Linked DNA regions of Homo sapiens: all the other regions are linked to region 2. The links are contacts of gene promoters, found by promoter capture Hi-C in blood cells and fetal thymus (Javierre and others, 2016). All regions are on one chromosome and are shown on one strand. The core of a region is centred on a gene start or on the middle of the fragment in contact, and the rest is flanking DNA. Distances in the headings are between cores, read along the strand shown. Region 1 overlaps CUX2 (cut like homeobox 2). Region 2 holds the start of MYL2 (myosin light chain 2). Region 3 overlaps CUX2 (cut like homeobox 2). Region 4 overlaps CUX2 (cut like homeobox 2).

Region 1 (2,778 bases), core at 181-2,680, 350 kb before region 2:
ACCTTGGGCATCGGGCTCAACCTCTCTGTGCCACAGAGAAGCGAGTTGCTTGGACCTGCTCCCATGGGGCGTGTGAAACGCAGAGCACAGAACAAAGGCAACTTCTATATCAGGCCTGTGCGCTCAAACTTTCCCATGCTCCAAGATCACAGGGGAGCTTGATAAAATGCAGAAGCTGATTCTGTGGGCCGGGGATGGGGCCTGAGACTCTGTAGTCCTTCCTTCCTCCCTCCCTCCCTTTCTTTCTTTTTTTTTTTTTTTTTTTTTTGACAGGGTCTTGCTCTGTCACCCAGGCTGGAATGCAGTGGCACAATCTTAGCTCACTGCAACCTCCACCTCCTGGGTTCAAGCAATTCTCCCACCACAGCTTCCCAAGTAGCTAGGACCACAGGCGCCCACGACCATGCCCAGATAATTTTTGTATTTTTTTTGTAGAGACAGGGTTTCTCCATGTTGCCTAGGCTGGTCTCAAACTCCTGGCTTCAAGTGATCCTCCCACCTGGGCCTCCCAAAGTGCTGGCATTACAGGCATGAGCCGCCACCTGCGGCTGAGCCTCTGCATTTCTAACCAGCTTGCAGGTGAGGCTGATGTTTCTGGTCCACAGACCACACTTTGAGTAGCAACAGGCCAGAAGACCTCCCTCTTCATCCAGGCCACACGCTGTCGGAGGGCAAGCTTTGTCAGCATTGCTGGATTAGTGTCCCAGCGCTGCAGTAGAAAAGCACCACCAACTGGGGGCTGAAAACAACAGACACTTATTGTCTTGTAGTTCTGGGGACCATAAGTCCAACATCAAGACACTGGCAGGGCTGTACTCCTTCTGAAGACTCTAGGGAAGGATCCTTCTTGTCTCTCCCAGTTTCTCATGGTTGCTGGCAATCTTTGGTGCTCCTTGCCTTGTAGCTACATCATTTCCACCGTGCCTCTGTTTTTACACAGCTTTCCTCAGTGGCTATCTCTGTACCCTCGTCTCTTTTTTTTTTTTTTTTGTTGAGACAGGGTCTTGCTCTGTCACCCAGGCTGGAGTGCAGTGTTGTGATCTCGGCTCATTGCAACCTCCGCCTCCTGGGTTCAAGCGATTCTCCTGCCTCAGCCTCTTGAGTAGCTGGGAATACAGGCTACCACACCTGGCTAATTTTTGTATTTTTAGTAGACATGGGGTTTCCCCATGTTGACCAGGGTTGTCTTGAACTTCTGACCTCAAGTGATCCTCCTGCCTCTGTCTCCCAAAGTGCTGGGATTACAGGCTTTGAGCCACTGTGCCTGGCCCCATACTTCTTACAACACCAGTCATTGGATTTAGGGCTCACCCTAAAGCCAGGATGATCTCATCTTGAGATCCTTAGCTAATTACATCTGCAAAGACTTATTTTCAAATAAGGTCATATTTTGAAGTTCTACGTAGACATAAATTTTGGAGGCCACACTATCCAACCCACTACAGTTGCCCCAGACAGAGGAACAGTGGACTTTCCCACCCCAAATACAAAGATCCCAGAAATGACCTTGACATCTAATCTAAATGACTCTGTGTTCTCTGTGGTTTGGGTTTTGCAGTCGGACAGCTGAGGGTGGGATGTCATTTTCCTCTTCACAGGCCCCCAGCCTCAAACACCTCCCGTAGTGCTGATTCCTGCCACTGTGTGGAAGGATGGGGGAAAGGACTGGGAGAGGTCTGGGTGGGGAGAGTTAGCACAGCAAGGCCTCCTCCGGGCTCTGCCATTGGTAAGCAGATCATTTCAACTCTTTGGGCTCCTGTTTCTGGGTCAGTAAATGAGAAGGTAGCAGGGGATGGGCCATTTAAAACAAGGGAAAGTTTTGGCCGGGTGCGGTGGCTCACATCTGTAATCCTAGCACTTTGGGAGGCTGAGGTGGGCGGATCACTTGAGGCCAGGAGTTTGAGACCAGGCTGGCCAACATAGGGCAACCCTGTCTCTACTAAAAATACAAAAAATTAGCCGGGAATGGTGGTGCATGCCTGTAATCCCAGCTACTCGGGAGGCTGAGGCAGGAGAATTGCTTGAACCCGGGAGGCGGAGGTTGCAGTGAGCTGAGATCGCGCTACTGCACTCCAGCCTGGGCAACAGAGCAAGACCCTGTCTCAAAAATAAAATAAAATAAAATAAAATAAAATAAAATAAAATAAAATAAAAATAAAATAAAATAAAATAGGGGAAGCTTTTATGGATGTCTGGCATATGTATAGATCCTTTGTGTACAACCAAATGTTCTCAAACTGTAACCCAAACCAGGACCGAGAAACCACAGTCCCAGCACCCAGAGGCCCCTCCCAGGAACTCTTGGCCCCCTTCAAGTGTTTGAAACCACTATCTTGATTTCCAATAGTACAGGTTGACTTTTTTTTTCAATTAAGGTGAAATTCATACAACAGAAAATTTATCATTTTAACGTGAACAATTCAATGACATTTAGTACATTCTTGATGTTCTACAACCACTTGTTCACTTAGTTCCAGAATATTTTTATCCCCCAAAAAGAAACTCATACCGATTAAGCAGTCACTCTCCAATCTCCCTCCCCAGCCCCGGGCAACCAACAATCGACTCTTATCTACGGCTTGCCTGTTCTGGATGTTTCATGTAAATGAAATCCTACACTATGTGGCCTTGGTTTCTGGCTTCCTTCACTCAGCACTGTGTTTTCGAGGTTCATCTTCACTGAAGCACATATCACAGCTCCATTCCTTTTTTATTTGAGACAGAGGACAGTCTTGCTCTGTCATCCAGGCTGGAGTGCAGGCATGATCTCAGCTCACT
Region 2 (2,768 bases), core at 269-2,768:
CTGAGTAGCTGGGACTACAGGCCCGCGCCACAACGCCTGGCTAATTTTTGTATTTTTAGTAGCGACAAGTTTCATCATGTTGGCCAAGGTCGTCTTGAACTCCTGACTCAAGTGATCCACCCGCCTCAGCCTCTCAAAGTGCTGGCATTTCAGGTATAAGCCACTGCACCCAGCAGGAAAGCTGTCTTCAGTAAAAGTATTATATAATGACACCTTGCATTCTGAGAGCAGCTGCTGTTTTCAAGGCTCTTAAAGAGCCTGGACTCTGGAGACAAAGGGGCCTCCAGAGGGGTCCACGCCTAGCTCCATCACTGTGTGACCCTGGGCAGCTCACTTCGCCTCTCTGAGCTTTTGTTTCCGCATCTGTAAAATGGGGGCATGGATGATGAGGTGGTCCCCACCCTCTAGGGTGGCTGGAAAATTATGTGTGGGAGCCATGAGCACATAGTGTCCGGCACGTGCCAGTGCTCAGTCAATGAGATTTGTCATTTCTTCAGTCAACAAATATTTATTTTTGAGCTGCTGCTGTGTGCATCATGAGCTGGGAGCTGGGGAGACAGTCAGTGGTGAGGGAAACTAAAGTGATCCCTGCCCTCTGAGCTGACGCTCCACAGATGCTGAAGAAAATGAGTCAGTGCACTGTGGGCAGTGTTCGGGACTGCCTCACGCTGTGCAGAGAAACAAAGAAGGGAGATCGGAGCGCAGGAGGTGCGTGGCTGTGTTATTTGTTTGTTTTGAGACAGGGTCTTGCTCTGTCACCCAGGCTGGAGTGCAGTGGTGTGATCGTGGCTCACCACAGCCTCAACCTCCCGGGCCCAAGTGATCCTCCTGTCCCAGCCTCCTGAATAGCTGAGACTATAGGCATGCACCACCACGCACAGCTATTTTTTTTTCTTTTGCGTAGAGACAGGCATCTCCCTATGTCACCCAGGCTGGTCGCAAACTCCTAGGCTCAAGCAATCTTCCCGCCTCGGCCTCCCGCCGTGCTGGGATTTCAGGCATGAGCCACAGTGCCAGCCTTCATGGTTATTTTAAAGATGGTGGTCGGGGAGGCTTCACTCAGGAGATGACATATGAGCAAAGATGCAGTGAAGGAGGTGAAGGAAGGAGCCGTGCGATGACTGACAGAAAGACATTCCAGGTAGAGGGCACACAGGTGCAAAGACCCTGAGGCCAGATCCAGGCTGATAAAACAGAGCATTTTAGCAGTCTCCTCTCCCTGCCATTTTTTTTCTCAAAATTGACAAGCACAAGTGTCCCCGGCCCAAGCACCGCAGAGAGCGCGCAGCATCTCTCCCCGTGACCATGACCCAGCTACTGCCTCTTTAACCTTGAATGCCTTTTTGGGGGCTCACGTGTCACCCAGTGGCGAGTGAGCCACCCTTACTTCAGAAGAACGGCATGGGGTGGGGGGGCCTTAGGTGGTGCCCGCCTCACCTATGACTGCCAAAAGCGGTCATGGGGTTATTTTTAAACATGGGGAGGAAGTATTTATTGTTCCTGGGCTGCAGAGAGCTGGGCGGAGTGTGGAATTCTTCTCGGGAGGCAGTGCTGGGTCCTTTCCACCATGGTGAGTACAAGGGCTCCAGGAGGTGATGATGCCGGGTGGGCGAGGAGAGGAAGCCACTACAAGCGAGGGACCACGGCGGAGGGGGAGGAAGGCGGCCCTCAAAGCCTCCAGCCCCTTGTGGAAAAAGCCCCATTGACTGCGCGGGCACAGAGGAACCCCAATCAATGCCCCGATAGGCCACAAATAACAGCAGCTCTCGGGGACTCACAAACACAAAATAAGAGAGTTGGCTTTTTTATGGCTTGTCTACTGACCTCTCGAGGAATCAATAACTCCCAGGACTTGCAAAATGGGATTGAATGCTTTTAAGGATCAAATTGTAATTCTTTTCTCTTGTTCAGGCAGCTGGGAAAAAGAATGTTTTTGTTTTCACCTTTTGAACTTGCAAATTTAAAACCTTTCTTTCTGTGCTGTTGGGTTAGGTGTCCCCCTCCTGAAGTGGGCAGTCCCCAAATCAGGGTCAGCACAGGAGGGAGAGTGGTTAGAGGCAGGAACTCTGGAGTCAGAATGCCCAAGTTCAACTCCCCAAGTTCAACGCCCAAGTTCAACTCCGGCTCTGCCTTCTGTGTGTGTGGCTGTGTGATCTTGGGCAAGTGACCCAACCTCTCTGAGCCTCAGTTGCCTCTCCTGTAAAATGGGGATGATAATAATAGTATCCACTTGACAGAGTGGTTATGAGAATTAAATAATACATATGTAGAGTACCGAATCATTTGCTGTTATTGAAAGTCAGAGAGAAGTGGGGTGGGGAAGAAAGGTCAACTCGCTCTTCTCTGCCCTATTGATGTGGTGCAAGGACGGAGCATTCAGAGAGGAGGTTTTGCTGCCATTTGGAGCAAGGGAAAATTGTGGGGTGTGGGGCGCAGTTGGGTTTTAACACCTTGAAGAACTGTCATTTCATCTTGGCATTCATCATGGCTTAGTGAGCCTGACTTTTTCTTTCCCTCCAATCAATTCTCCTTCTGTGCATTACTGAGCTTTTTGTGAAATGCATCAGAACAAAAGTGGCTGGATCCTGCAGGGGCGATCTGAAGGTGTGGCCTCCATCCCCAGGGACACACCTGTGGCTTCTCCTAGTTGGTGAAGGAGCCACTGCAAGATGCACAAACGCTTATGATCCACTGGTACCAGAGGGCTCTGGAGAAACTTCATGTCATGTCCTTTGCTCCCTCCAGCATCACCGTTTGGAGACCTGAGT
Region 3 (2,768 bases), core at 157-2,656, 300 kb before region 2:
CTTATCCCCCAGAACCTCTCCATGCAGGGTGGTCTCCAGGTAGTCACACTTCTCACATAAAGGATGGGTTTGGAGAGATGTGGTGGGGAGAGCCAGCAGGTAGGCTAAAGGCTATGCTGGATCATGGCACAGTGTCACCTCCACCATGTTCTACTGGTCAAAGTAGGCACAGGCCCAGATTCAAAGGATGGAGACACAGACTCCATCTCTTGGCAGGGGAATGCAGGGACACACGGCAGATGTGCATGGGATGGAGATACTGCCGTGGCTGTCATCGGGGCAGGGTGTCAATGTGAAGCGCAGCAAACAAATAGAACCTCTGGGATGGAACCGACGGCCTCCCTTGGGCTTCTGGACATTATTTCAGAATCACAGGGACTTGGCTCCTACAGACATTTTTTCTTTTTCTTTCTTTAAAGGATTCCATGCGGAATCCTAGGGACATCCTTGAGGGCAGGGATGGTGTCTCACCATCTTTGGATCTGCAACAGTCCTCACACAGAGCCTGGGACATAGAAGGTTCTCCACAAGGATCTGTTGAGCGGACCTGCACGCTGCCAATAGAAGGGTGGCCTTGTCTCCTTTGGGAAGTCCTTCTTCCGGGTACTGCAAAAATGCTTGCTCTCCCTCATACCAAAAGGAGGCGAGGTGACCACTGGGTTGTGACCATCACTGGGCCAGCATCTGGAACCCTGCCTAGTATGCAGCAGCTATTCAATAAATGCTTGTTGAGGTGACTAAATGATTACATGGGCTCAAGTGATGATCTAATGCATCTTTACCCCCTTCTCTAAGCTCCTAGAAGGTGATCATGCCACACGAATTCCCCCAGACCCTGAGTGATTAGAGGGAGAACGTTCTCAGTCCCACACAACCATGCACGCCCACCATGGTGACAACAAGTGACTCACTGGCCACTTGACACACAGAATGTCACTGAATCTCATGCAATCCTATGAGCTGACCCTATTTACAGATGAGGAAACAGTGGCTCAGAGACATAAAGTCACTCGCCAAGGTCACATAAGCTTGTCAGTGTGAGGGTGGGGCTCAGACCACAGGTGTCTAACCTCTCCTGGGTGTCAGAGGCCAGGTCAGCCCACTTGGTCTCCAAACTACTGTGTTTCAATCAGGCCCAGGTGAATGTCTCTGTTCCAATCCAACCCAAAAGGTTTTCCACCATACAGGCCACATCCCCTTTATGGTGGAAGAAAAAGGCGGCAGAGAAAAAGAAAATCTCCCAACAGTGGCCCTGTGGTCTTTCAAGCTGGGACAGTGCACACGCGCTTCAGAAAAGTTTCACCTCCGAGTTAGCATAACAAAACTTTTAATTTAGATGTTTTCATGTCTCCCTCCAAGTAAAAATAAGTTTAAAATAATGACTGTAATAAATGAAGGTAATTAATTGTAGTTTGTTCCTTTACTGTCTAGTCAGCTTAATTTTACCTTTTCAACTAATAATGAGAAAATAATTTTTGTGCTCGGAGGGTTAATGATATGTAACTGCGAGAACTGCTAATTGCATGTTGCAATCCATCCATCAACAACCCCATCTGTGCGACTTGATTATGTTTGCTAAATTATTGCTTTGAATTATCTTTCATAAAGCAACTTTTATAATTAGCGAGGCTTTCGTCTTGCTCTTTTCTCTGTACGCAAGGATATTCAAACTTTGGCCATTTCAAGCTGTCTCCATTAAGCCACCTTCTCTGGCTGTCTTTGTTTCCCTGAACAGGAGAAATCTAAACTGTCCTTTAAGCAATCAAGGCAGACAGAGAAGCTTCCTTGATTCACAGCAGGGCAAATTCACTTCCTCTCCACCCCCTCCCACCGGCACGCACACACACAAACACACACACACACAGAAAGAAAGAAAAGAGACCCACACATATATAATATAAAAAGATAAGAAGTATGCCCAGATTCTGAACACACCAGGGCTGGTGAAGCAAAATTCAGGAATAACATGGTATATTTTATTGAACATGGTATATTTCATGGTACTTACCATGAAACTGAACATGGTATATTTCAAGGAAAGGCCTGCACTGGGAAGAAGGAATGACGGGCATGATATTCTGCCCTGGCGTTTTATGGGCTAGTTTATGTGACTTGGGATGGTATTTGCTCCAGGGAATATTTCCAGGAGGTGATTAATACCCACTTGGGAATCGCAGTGCCAGCCCAGAGCCTGGTGGATTGCAAGAGGACAGCGGCATAAAGGATGAGGCCTCATTAAAAAAATTAAAATGAAAATCAAATTTGGATTATAAATGGCCTGTGCATGTGCAGCTTTTTCTGGACGAAGAAGATGCTTTTTATTAACACCTTCCTTTGGCAGCGTCTCTCCCCTGAGGCACAAGGAGGACACAGAGGCCACAATGGCTTAGTCAATAGATCACGAGAAAAGCAGGGGTTTCGGGAATAAAATTCCAGACAAATGTAGTCTTCTTGGTACATTAAAGGGACGATGGAAAGCCCTCTTAAGAAAATTAACAAAGTTCTTTAAGGTCTCCAGCTATTAAAGCAGCATCTATTCAATATGCCACATGGGTTTTGAAAATGAGAATTCTGCTTTGTCTTTCCTTTTGGCCTAAGACTTTCTCTGTCCTAGTATTTACTGAGCACCAACGGTGTGCCAGACCCTGGGACTGCCTCCATGCTGCTGAAGTGTTTGAATCCTTTTTCCTTTTTTTTTTTTTTTTTTTTTTTTAAGAGACCAGGTCTCGCTCTGTTGCCCATACTAGAAAGAAATGGTATAATCATAG
Region 4 (2,888 bases), core at 21-2,520, 430 kb before region 2:
GAACATGCTTCAGTCCCTGAAGCCCACAGGCACCTGCTCCCTCGGGTTCTCAGGTGGCTTGCGTGGTGCCAGACTCCACTCCTGCCAGCCTGGTCCCACAGGGGGCCACACCCTGGGGGTTTCTGACCTCCAACCTTCTCAAGAGCTGTGAATGAACTGAGGGTCTGAAAGGGTATTCTTTGGTTTTGTTTAATTTGAATCTTTACAACCACCTTGTGAGCAAGATGCCATTCCTACCGCCTCCACTTTATGGCTGGGAAACTGAGGCACTGTGTAGTTTAAGCATTTGCCCAAGGCCACACAGCTCTAAGAGGCGGAGCCAGAGTTGAAACCAGGCCATTTGGCTCTTGACTCCCATCTTCCTCCCCAGCTCTGAGGACAGGCCATCCATTCGCCTGAAATGTCACATGCAATGGGCTGACTCAGGAGCTCCAGGGCTGATGGGGGCCTGGGCCCTGACCTGCCACCTCCCACTCCCACCACTCCATGATGGGGTGCCCAGGCATCCCAGTGGGCTGTCCTGCTGGGCTTGGAGCAATTAGTTATCCTAACCGAGACGGGGGTAATTGTTTAACGCTCCCTGCAAGGATATACGGAAAAACTGGGGCAATTGGAAGATTTCCAGACAAAGGGAAAAGGGCTGTCTTGGGACAGCCACATGGCTGGGCTCATGGGTGAGTAATGTTTAGTGCCACTTCAGGGACTCTCCTGACATCATAGGTCACAAAAAAACCCCTCCTGCAGCCTGATGCACAGAGACTCACTATCATAGGCTGGAAGAACCTACCCCCTACTTACAATAACAATAACTAATAGTTACCGAGTTTTTTCTTTTTTTCCTTTGAGATGGAGTCTTGCTCTGTCGCCCAGGCTAGAGTGCAGTGGCACGATCTTGGCTCACTGTAACCTCCACCTCCTGGGTTCAAGCGATTCTCCTGTCTCAGCCTCCTGAGTAGCTGGGATTATAGGTGCACACCACCACGCCCAGCTAATTTTTGTATTTTTAGTAGACATGGGGTTTCACCATGTTGGTCAGGCTGGTCTCGAACTCCTGACCTCATGATCCACCTGCCTTGGCCTCCCAAAGTGCTGGGATTACAGATGTGAGCCACTGCGCCTGGCATTTTTTTTTTTAATAGTCTCACTTGGCCGGGCGTGGTGGCTCACACCTGTAATCCCAGCACTTTGGGAGGCCGAGGCGGGTGGATCACGAGGTCAGGAGATCGAGACCATCCTGGCTAACATGGTGAAACCCCATCTCTACTAAACAAAATACAAAAAATTAGCCGGCGGTGGTGGCGGGCGCCTGTAGTCCCAGCTACTCGGGAGGCTGAGGCAGGAGAATGGCGTGAACCCGGGAGGCGGAGCTTGCAGTGAGCTGAGATCTCGCCACTGCACTCCAGCCTAGGCGACAAAGCGAGACTCCGTCTCAAAAAAAAAAAAAAAAAAAAAAAAGTCTCACTCTGCCCACCCAGGCTGGAATGCAGTGGCGCAATGGCTCACTACAGCCTCTGCCTCACTACAGCCTCTGCCTCATGGGTTTAAGCAATTCTCGTGCCTCAGCCTCCTGAGTAGCTGGGACTACAGGTGCCCACCACCATGCTTGGCTAATTTTTGTATTTAGTTATCGAGTTCTTACTGCCGTGCAGTTTTACGCATATGCATATGCATGTATATTATTCACAATGACCTTCTGAGTTGGCTGCTGTGATACCCCCATTTTGCAGATGAGGAAACTGAGGCCCCAGTTATACAACTAGGAAAGGTGTGATGCTATGTTGGTCAACAGGAAGCCCCTCTTGGCATTTTCCCATCGGGCCTGGGGGCACTAACCACTCACACACTGTACAGAGGTGGGCACAGCTTGCAAGCTGGTTCACTTGCTGGTTTAGGGGTAGAGTGCAGTTTTGACTCCTCATACCAGGCCCTGGAGTCTGAGCAGCTTCTACTCTGCTGCAGGCTGGTCCACAAGGCACACTTGCCAACCCAGATGCCCACAAGGCCCAGGCAGGTTGCACAGTTGAGGGCTGAAGCAAATCATGGGCATGTGCCCCATCTAAAGGCAGCCAGCCCTCATCTGGCTGTTGTCACATTGGAACGTGGGCCCAGTGTGGCCAAGATCTTGACTATTTCCTGGAGAAGCTCATAATCATGCTTTTTAATGGGACATGCCCATTAAATGTTGGCCATTTTTTTTTTTTTTTTAGAGAGGAGGGTCTTACCGTGTTGCTCAGGATGGTCTCAAACTCCTGGCCTCAAGTGATCCTCCCACCTTGGCCTCCTAAAGTTCTGGGATTACAGGCCTGAGCCACCATGCCCAGCCAATGTTGGCAATTTAGAAACCAGGCTTAAATTTTTTTTTTTAGAGACAGGGTCTCTCTCTGTCTATGCTGGAATGCACTGGCAATCATAGCTCACTGCAGCCTCAAATTCCTGGGCTCAGGCAATCCTCCCACCTTGGCCTCCCAAAGCACTGGGATTATAGGTGTGAGCCATTGTGCCTTAAAAACTAGTTTTAAAAAATACCATTTTGTAAAACATCTCTGAGGGCCAGATCTGACCTCCAGTTTGTACTCCTAGCCCCAGAACAAAGAAGCAAGACACCCAGAATTATTATACAATTCTGTATTTAGCGACTCGTTTACAGAACGTGTTCCTTTTTTTAAAATTTTAAACAAAGTTCATCAATCTCTCATAGAAACGGTTTGTGTATGTGTGTGTGTGTTTTTTAACCGTTATAGGACGTGAACCTGACAAAGTTGTTCACGGGTCCGCTAGCTTTAAGTACAACAGGATTTCCGTGTTCAAAAGACTATACTAAGTGCTTAATCAAATCCCGTCACACTAAAGCCAAATTTAGTTCTCTAGGAATCGGAGTCTGCGTATAA

The links. Contacts are between HindIII fragments. The CHiCAGO score rates a contact against its expected background, and 5 or more counts as called.
Region 1: a contact is called between a fragment that was not itself captured here and the fragment with the promoter of MYL2 in region 2, in 1 of 17 cell types (endothelial precursors). The highest score is 5.6, in endothelial precursors.
Region 3: a fragment that was not itself captured here is called in contact with the fragment with the promoter of MYL2 in region 2 in 1 of 17 cell types (endothelial precursors); the score reaches 5.2 in endothelial precursors.
Region 4: a contact is called between a fragment that was not itself captured here and the fragment with the promoter of MYL2 in region 2, in 1 of 17 cell types (M2 macrophages). The highest score is 6.1, in M2 macrophages.

Annotation. Positions count from the first base shown.
Region 1 is chr12:111,264,686-111,267,463 of GRCh38, reverse strand. The region is part of intron 4 of CUX2 (cut like homeobox 2); the gene reads right to left. Among named protein-coding and RNA genes, the nearest start is that of MIR6760, 38 kb to the left of the region's middle. The HindIII fragment of the contact is 1,503 bases long and covers 679-2,181 here.
Region 2 is chr12:110,919,329-110,922,096 of GRCh38, reverse strand. MYL2 (myosin light chain 2) reads left to right here and starts at 1,518. Exons shown (of 7, transcript NM_000432.4): 1 at 1,518-1,570. The coding sequence starts at 1,568. RefSeq lists an enhancer at 710-2,768. The HindIII fragment of the contact is 13,220 bases long and covers 1-2,768 here.
Region 3 is chr12:111,220,883-111,223,650 of GRCh38, reverse strand. All of the region lies in intron 3 of CUX2 (cut like homeobox 2), which reads right to left. Among named protein-coding and RNA genes, the nearest start is that of MIR6760, 82 kb to the left of the region's middle. The HindIII fragment of the contact is 752 bases long and covers 1,031-1,782 here.
Region 4 is chr12:111,350,277-111,353,164 of GRCh38, reverse strand. CUX2 (cut like homeobox 2) reads right to left here. Exons shown (of 22, transcript NM_015267.4): 22 at 2,611-2,888. Among named protein-coding and RNA genes, the nearest start is that of PHETA1, 17 kb to the left of the region's middle. The HindIII fragment of the contact is 4,968 bases long and covers 1-2,888 here.